2 separate regions of the Homo sapiens genome follow, and region 1 is linked to region 2. The links are contacts of gene promoters, found by promoter capture Hi-C in human tissues and cell types (Jung and others, 2019). All regions are on one chromosome and are shown on one strand. Each heading gives the region's core, a stretch centred on a gene start or on the middle of the fragment in contact. The rest is flanking DNA. Distances are from core to core; before and after follow the strand shown.

The links. Contacts are between HindIII fragments. The study calls those that stand out against the background at their distance.
Region 1: a contact is called between the fragment with the promoter of DTX4 here and the fragment with the promoter of RTN4RL2 in region 2, in 1 of the 25 tissues and cell types used here (neural progenitor cells).

The regions. Positions count from the first base shown.
Region 1 is chr11:59,170,061-59,173,623 of GRCh38, reverse strand. It overlaps DTX4 (deltex E3 ubiquitin ligase 4), which reads right to left and starts at 1,492. Exons shown (of 9, transcript NM_015177.2): 1 at 818-1,492. The coding sequence starts at 1,028. LOC124902601 (basic proline-rich protein-like) reads left to right here and starts at 179. Exons shown (of 2, transcript XM_047427951.1): 1 at 179-359; 2 at 894-3,549. The coding sequence starts at 179. The coding sequence ends at 1,702. RefSeq lists enhancers at 426-535, 1-806, 1,434-1,728, 1,815-2,355 and silencers at 876-925, 986-1,555. The HindIII fragment of the contact is 18,272 bases long and covers 1-3,563 here.
Region 2 is chr11:57,459,210-57,462,503 of GRCh38, reverse strand. RTN4RL2 (reticulon 4 receptor like 2) reads right to left here and starts at 1,976. Exons shown (of 3, transcript NM_178570.3): 1 at 1,608-1,976. The coding sequence starts at 1,638. RefSeq lists an enhancer at 1-264 and silencers at 1,700-1,969, 3,069-3,128. The HindIII fragment of the contact is 24,381 bases long and covers 1-3,294 here.

The DNA.
Region 1 (3,563 bases), core at 243-2,742, 1.7 Mb before region 2:
GGTTTCAAGAGGAAGCCTGGGGACAGTTTCTCCTTAGGAATCTGCGTCCTCCTCCTCCGCAGACAAAGGGAGCGGCTTCCCTGCCATGCATTCCGAAGCCCCGAGCCTCCCCCTCCTCTCTCCATCTGCTCCGGCCTGTTGCTTCCGCGCATGTAGTGTGTAGCAGAGGCATTCGCCAATGCCGCGGCGTCCAGGGTACCCCAGCCCTAGTCTCTCCTCCCAGGGAGCCCGGCGCTTCCCTTACCCGACTGTAGCGAGAACCTCCGGGGAATCCCTTCTTCCTCCCCCAGTTCCCACACCCAGGACCCAGCTGCGGGGAGGCATCCCACACAGGAGACGCAGAGGCAGTGAGATCGGGGGTGAGGGGACGTGTGGCAAGCCCCAGCGTGCCTGAAGCAAAACAGGGTCAGGTCAGCCAAGGTGCCGGCCGCCACGGGATGAGGGCAGGAAGCCTTTGCGAAGGGCTGGGATTGCCTGTAGTCTGGGGCGGCCCTAGAATTTCTACATAGAAAGACTTAGGGCCACCAACTGCTGAAAAGCGGGGGCATGAAAGGGGTGGGGAGTGGATTGTTACCGACTAGGTTGAAGCTGGGTTTGCAAAACCACAACACTGATACTATTTGCATGGATGTTTAAGGGGGAGGGAGGATCCTGCGAGGATTCAGCGGAGTGAATCGCCTCCCACCACCACCTCTTGGTGACACTGCTGCACAGAAGTGCCGACTAGGTGGCCAAGGTGGGTTCACAGGGAGGGAGGTACCTTGGCAGGTTGGGAAGGTGGGAGCAGGCGGGGCGGGGTCAGGGGCGGCTGGCTCACCCGTGTCTTGGCGGAACTGGTTCATGGACTGCAGGTCGATGATGTAGGGCGCGAGACGGCTGTCCACCTGGCCCAGCACCACGCTGCCCCCCGCGCGGGGGCCGGCGCGGACCACCGCCTCGATGTGGTGGCTCACCGCTGGGCTGTAGGGACGCCAGCGGCCGTGCTCGTTCAGCCATTCCCAGACCACCACGGCCGAGGCCAGGAGCATGGCGAGCCCGGGGCTGCGGCGCTGCGCGGCCCGCCTCCCGGGCCCCGAGCGCCCGACCTCCTCCGCTTCCTCCTGCGCCGCCGCCTCCGGGCCTCGACCGCGCCCCCTGCCCCGCGCCCCGCCGCCCCGGGCAGCCTCAGCTCCGGCCCATGGGCTCCTCCCCAGCCGTGCATCCACCGGGGCCGGGACACCGGGGCCGCCTGGCTGGGACCGCGCGCCGCCGCCGCCGCCGGGGTCCGCTGCTGCTGCCGCTGCTCTGTGGGGTCGAGTCGCTTCATGCAAATGCCCGGCTCTCTGCAAACAGGCCCCCGCCTTGCAAAAGCCACTCGGCGGGCGCGCGGCCCGAGCCCCGGCGGCCGCGAGCTGGGGCTGACGGCGAGGCAAGGACCCAGCCCTCGCACCAGTTGCGCCTCGGCCTCTGCAGACGCCGGGGTGGGATCTCGCCGCACGGCCGCGCTCGGAATGGCACGCTCTGGTCCCCTCCCCTCTCTCCCTCCCTCCCCACCCCTTCGCCGCACGAATTGCAGTCCCCGCCGCTGGGAGAGCTCCCCCTGCCTGTGGCTCTGCTCAGTTCCTTCCAGAATGAACCACCCCTCCCAAGCAGGGCGCTAAGGCAAACCCGCGCCCGCGTGTGTTTCCCTGGTTCCTTGATGCAGAGAAGCGACCCGCCATGACACGGCCCCGGGACCACCACTGTCGCCCAGCCGCAACTTTGCAGCCTCCTTCCCCCAAATGTAATTTTCTCTCTCTCTCTCTTTTTTTTTCCTTAATGCAGCATGATCAGTGTCCGCAGCGCGAACTGGAGACACGCATTGTCTCGGGGCTTGCGCACGCACTGGCACACTCACAGTCGCACACACACGCGCGCGCACCCCAACTCCTTCCTTGCCCCGGCTCCTATTACCTCATCCTCTCCCGCATCCTTAGCTGTCCGTCAAGGAAGCAGAAGACACGCCCCCTGCTGCTCGGGCGAGTGCCCTGGAGCTTACCCGCCCCCTGCTGGCCTAAAGTGTCGTGTGCCGGCCAGTGGCCACTCCAACCTCTGCTAATGAGACCCAGTCCAAAGGGATGCAGCAATTTCGCTAATGATGGATTTATATTACCTACGTAGAGAGCAAATGTGGTTTTTCTGGCCAGATTCAACGTACTAGAGTCAGGAAGACGCATGTTAGATTAATTTTATCTGCATCGTTTCTGTAACTAAAATTATGAAACACTAGGAAAAACACGAGTTAGACTTATTTTGATCATCAATAGTTAATATGGAAAATAACCTTAAATAGGTAGGTTCTGACTAAAAGGGAAGACTGAAGTCAGGATTATGCATTATCCTTGTCAAAGAACACAAATTTTGTTTTGTTGAGATTGCAAACCACATAAAACAACGAATCGAGTCTTATCAAGATCCAAGTTATAGGATGCGGGAAAGTAAAAATAGATTATGTGTTAGAGAATGGGATTGTGAATCTTTTTGAAATAATCAATTTTTTCATAAATATCATATGACCCTTTTATGTTTTAGAAGAGTTGCTTCCCCCTCCCTCTCCTTGCAGCTGTCATTTCTCCCATTGTTAGAATTTTGCATCCTTCTACCTTTATCTTTCTCCCAACAGAGTTCTAAATACAAAGCAAAAGAAAAAGTGTGAGATCTGTTCTTCTTCAGGCCCCTAAAGGCACCAGGCTCAAGGAACCTCTGAGCTTTGTTCTTTCTGGTCTTCTTGCACAGCTTGGCCTCCAAAATGCCTAGTCGGCCTCTCCCTTATTTGGGGACTGTTCCTAATCCAACCTAAACAATACCACTCATTAAAATGTCGAGTTTCAGAATTAGAAGAACAAAAAGAAAACAAGGATACCTCGACTAATTATATCATAGGCCATTATTATTACCATTTTACAAATGACAGGACTTAAGGAATTTAAACTATTTGCCCTAGATTACATAGCTAGTTAGAGGGGAAACCAGTATTCAAAATTTAGTTGGGCTGTCTCAAAAGAAAATGCCTGTTCCATAGCATGTCCTATACAACACAGAGGTGGCACAATAACAGGCAATGTAGAAGTGTCTCAGTGTGAAAGAAGGGAAGGGAGAAAATGGGGGTAGAATTTTCTGGAAAAGAAACAGAAGGCAAACTGAAGAAAAAGTAATTTAAAAATTTATTGGGCTACTTTTATTTCTAGTCATAAAAATGGAAAGTATCAAAACTCAGGAAACTTTCTTATAGTCTTGGTAAGTATGAATCAAAAAGTGAAGAGTAATGATTCAAGGGGATATTGGAAGTACCAGCGAAAATATAGCACCTGACCAGCTAAGCCAGAAATTCCAAGGTGAAAAAAATCTAAACTAGATAAGCAGGCTACCAGCAAATGTTAGATGAGCTGTTTGAAAGGCGAATGGAAGGCAGAAGGAAACTGACGCCTACCTGCCTATGTCCAGCCTAGTTTTGTATCTGGTCTTCTTGTATCTTCCATGTTAAACACAACAGAGTATTACAGCAGAATAAAAATATCTTATGACATGTGAGAAGGTTTGTATGT
Region 2 (3,294 bases), core at 727-3,226:
GGAAAGGATGCTCCCTGGAAAGGCAGCAGAGGCCTCTCGCTCTGGAAGGAGGGGCACAGGGTCCCAGACGAGAAGCAAGGGCTCCACACCCAACGGGCTGCTTCAGGGAAGGGCTGGGGCCTGCGGGCAGATGCTGAGGGGGCAGGGGCTGAGGAGGTGGGAGCTGAGGAGTGGGATGGAGGTGGTGGTGATGCCAGTGACGCAGGGGCCTGGGGAGGCACTGACGCGGGTGACGGAGGTTTAGAGCTGCTGCAAACAGCTTCTCACTCTGCCAGAATGTAACACCCCAAAATAAGCAGCCACCGTGGTGGCGGCAGCGGCTGCAGAATCCAACGTCCAGGCCGGATAAATAAATGGCAGCACAGGAGCCAGCCTGTTTGCCCACCCTCGGAGGCTGTCACTCCCCTTCCAAAGTCCTCACCCTCTGTCCCTCACAGCCACCCCCAGGGCCCTGAGCTCAAAGCACCCCCCATCTGGCCCACCAGCCACTCCCTGAGAGAAGAAATGTGGCAGGCAGGCGCTTTGGGAATGGAGGGCTTCCCACGTGGAAGTGGTTACCAGAAGCCTCTTTGTCTCATCCCTGGGCAGCACCCCCAATCCCCAGTCCCTCTCTCTCAGCCTTTCTCTTCCTCCTCCTCTTCCCTCCTCTCCAGCCCCTCTCCCATCCATGGTTCCCTGTCTCCAACCCTCTTCGCCGGTTCCTGATACCCCTTCTCTAGTCACCATCCCCATCCTTCTCTGGTTTCTGATCTTTCCATTCTCCTTTTCCATTCCAGTCCCCAGGGTCCCAGTCCTGATTCTCTTTCCCGCTACCTCCATCCCAGGATTCTGGGTCCCTGTCCATAGTCTTCTTCCCATCCCTCCCCTGATCTGGTCTTTCCTCTCCTTCCCTCTTCCTTGGTCTTCACCTGGGTCCCACTTCCCTCCACGCTTTTCCCATCTAACCTTTATTCCTTCTCCCCCTCCCCCGCTCCATCTCCCTCCTCCTTTGAGCTTCCCTCACCACTTTCTCCATCTTTGAGTTCTCCTTCCTATCCCTCTCCCCCTGACCCCTCCCCACCCCACCCCCAGTCTCTGGCCCACACCCTTATCTGTCACTCAATCAGTAGAACTATCCTCTTTCTAGCGCCCTCCATCTCTCCTACCAGAGAGGGCCACTTGGATTTCCCTCTGCGCCTCCTACCTCCCCAGACAGCCCCCTACCCACATCTCCTGTCTTCCCAGGTGGCCAGAAAGTGCTGAGGCACCGGGCAGGAGGAGTTGCTGAGTCGGCGCTTCCCCAGCCGGCCCGAGTCCTCAGCGTCCCCCGGAGCAGGTGGAGCGGGGACAGCGGAACCTGAGCCTCCCTCCCCGCTCCGGGCCGGGTCCACCTGCCCCCTGCGTCCCACCTCGGTCACGAGCTCCTCGCACGCGCCCGCGGGCTCCCAGCCAAGTGCCCTCCTGCTGAGAACAGCCCTGGCGGCGGGGGCGCGGCCCCAGCGCTGAGCTTTTCCCCTTCCCCAGGTTACCCCACCTCCCCAACTGCCCCACCCTCAATCCCTGAAAGAGGGGACGCCCTGCTTCTCTCCCCAGGATGCCCTCCGCTCTCCCGCCGCTGGCGTTCTTACCTTGCAGCAGGCGCCTGAGCCCGGGCAGCATCTTGTCTCGATGCTCGGGGGAGGGGGCAGCGGGGGGAGGGCGCTCCCACTCGCTCCCTGAGCCCGCCGGATGCACGGCGGGGACCCCGCGGGGCTCCGGGAGGGCCCGGGAGTCCCCGGGCTGCGTGGCCGGGCCGCGGCGCTCTACCCTGCGCCGCCCGGGCTGCGGGCCTCGGGAGGAGCCATCGGCCCCGACGGGACGGGGCGGGGCGCGACGGGGCGGGGAAGGCTGGGGCTGGCCGTCGACGCCCAGCGCCCGCGCCCCGCTAGCTGCGCTGTCCGCTCGAGAGTCCGTCAGTCCGTCTGTCCGTGTGCCCAGGCTGCTAGCCGAGGGAGAGTGGGGACAGCGAGGAAGCTCTTCCCAACCACCCCCACTCCTTCCCGCACTCGCTGGCTCCTCCCTCGTTTGCTGGCTTGCCGACTTAACCCTTTCTCGACCACTAGGAGGCGGGAGCGGCTTTCTAACCCCCTCCACCCCGCCCCCCTCCCCCCCGCTTAAGCGACCCGGAGGACTGTGTTCGATCGTCCTCGCGGCGCCACTCTTCTAGAGAAATCCCTTCTTGGGGGAATGCGGTAGTTTAGAGGAACGCCGTGGACTTGTCCTGTTCCCCCCTCCCAACTTTCCAGGAGAAGATGAGCTTCTGGGTCACCCCCTCCCCCGCCCCCAGCCGCGTCCCTCGCGCCAGTGTCCCAGCCTCCAGCATTTCTGTCCCCTGGGACAGCTCCAAGATTCCACTTTTCCTTCCACTCCCAGACCTCAAGCCCAGTGTGCGACTATAAGAATAGTATATGCAAGAGTTTGTGCGTGCAAGATCGAGTGCATATGAGCGTGCACGTGCGCGCAAGGATGCTTGTGCAGGTGTGACTCAGGATGCTTGCCCGTTACCCTTTGTACGGGCTTGGGGAAGCGGGGGGGGGGGCACGTGAGTGTGCACACGGGTGAGCCGCTGAAAGTCCGCCAGCGTGCATGTCTGAGCTGGTGGGAAACGTGAGGCTGTGCGAGGTTTTGCGCTTGCGATCTTGGGGATGGGTGGAAAGAAATATGTGCCCGGTGTGTGTATGCCCCTTAGTGCATTTACAAGCGGGTGCGAGATGGGCGCGCGTGCGAGTGTGTGCGTTTTTTTGTGTATGTATGATGTGTCCGGGAGGGGAGACCTTATCTCCCGCGGGGGTGCAGGAGAGGACCCAAAGCTGGGGAGAAGACTGTTGGCTTCGCGTGAACTTCCTCTACCCCCTTTTAAAGAGGGGCGGATTATGGTCTCACTGGAGCCCCTCTGGCCCTTCATGGCCTGGTCACAGGCGGTATCAGCAGACCCATCACCTAGGCACTTCCCTACAAAGGCTGCAGGGCGGTTGACCCAGGTCTTGACTCGGCCCGGCGCGTCCGCGGAGCCGCCCCGGCGTAGGATAGGCTCGGGGCCCTCGGGGGAGCCGCTTCGGGTACGGTGGCCAGGCAGCGCTGGCGGGGTTGGGGCTGCTGGAGCCTCAGGTGCGGCGGTGCCGGGGCTGCTGAGCCCCCTGGGCTGCCGCTCCCGCGAGCACAGAAGCCCCTCGCCCCGCTGCCCGCGCCGCGGCTCCTCCTTTCCTATCCGTGCCAGGGTCCAATGCAGTGCCTGGCATACAGTCGGCTCTTGATAAATGTTGGTCTTATTCTTCC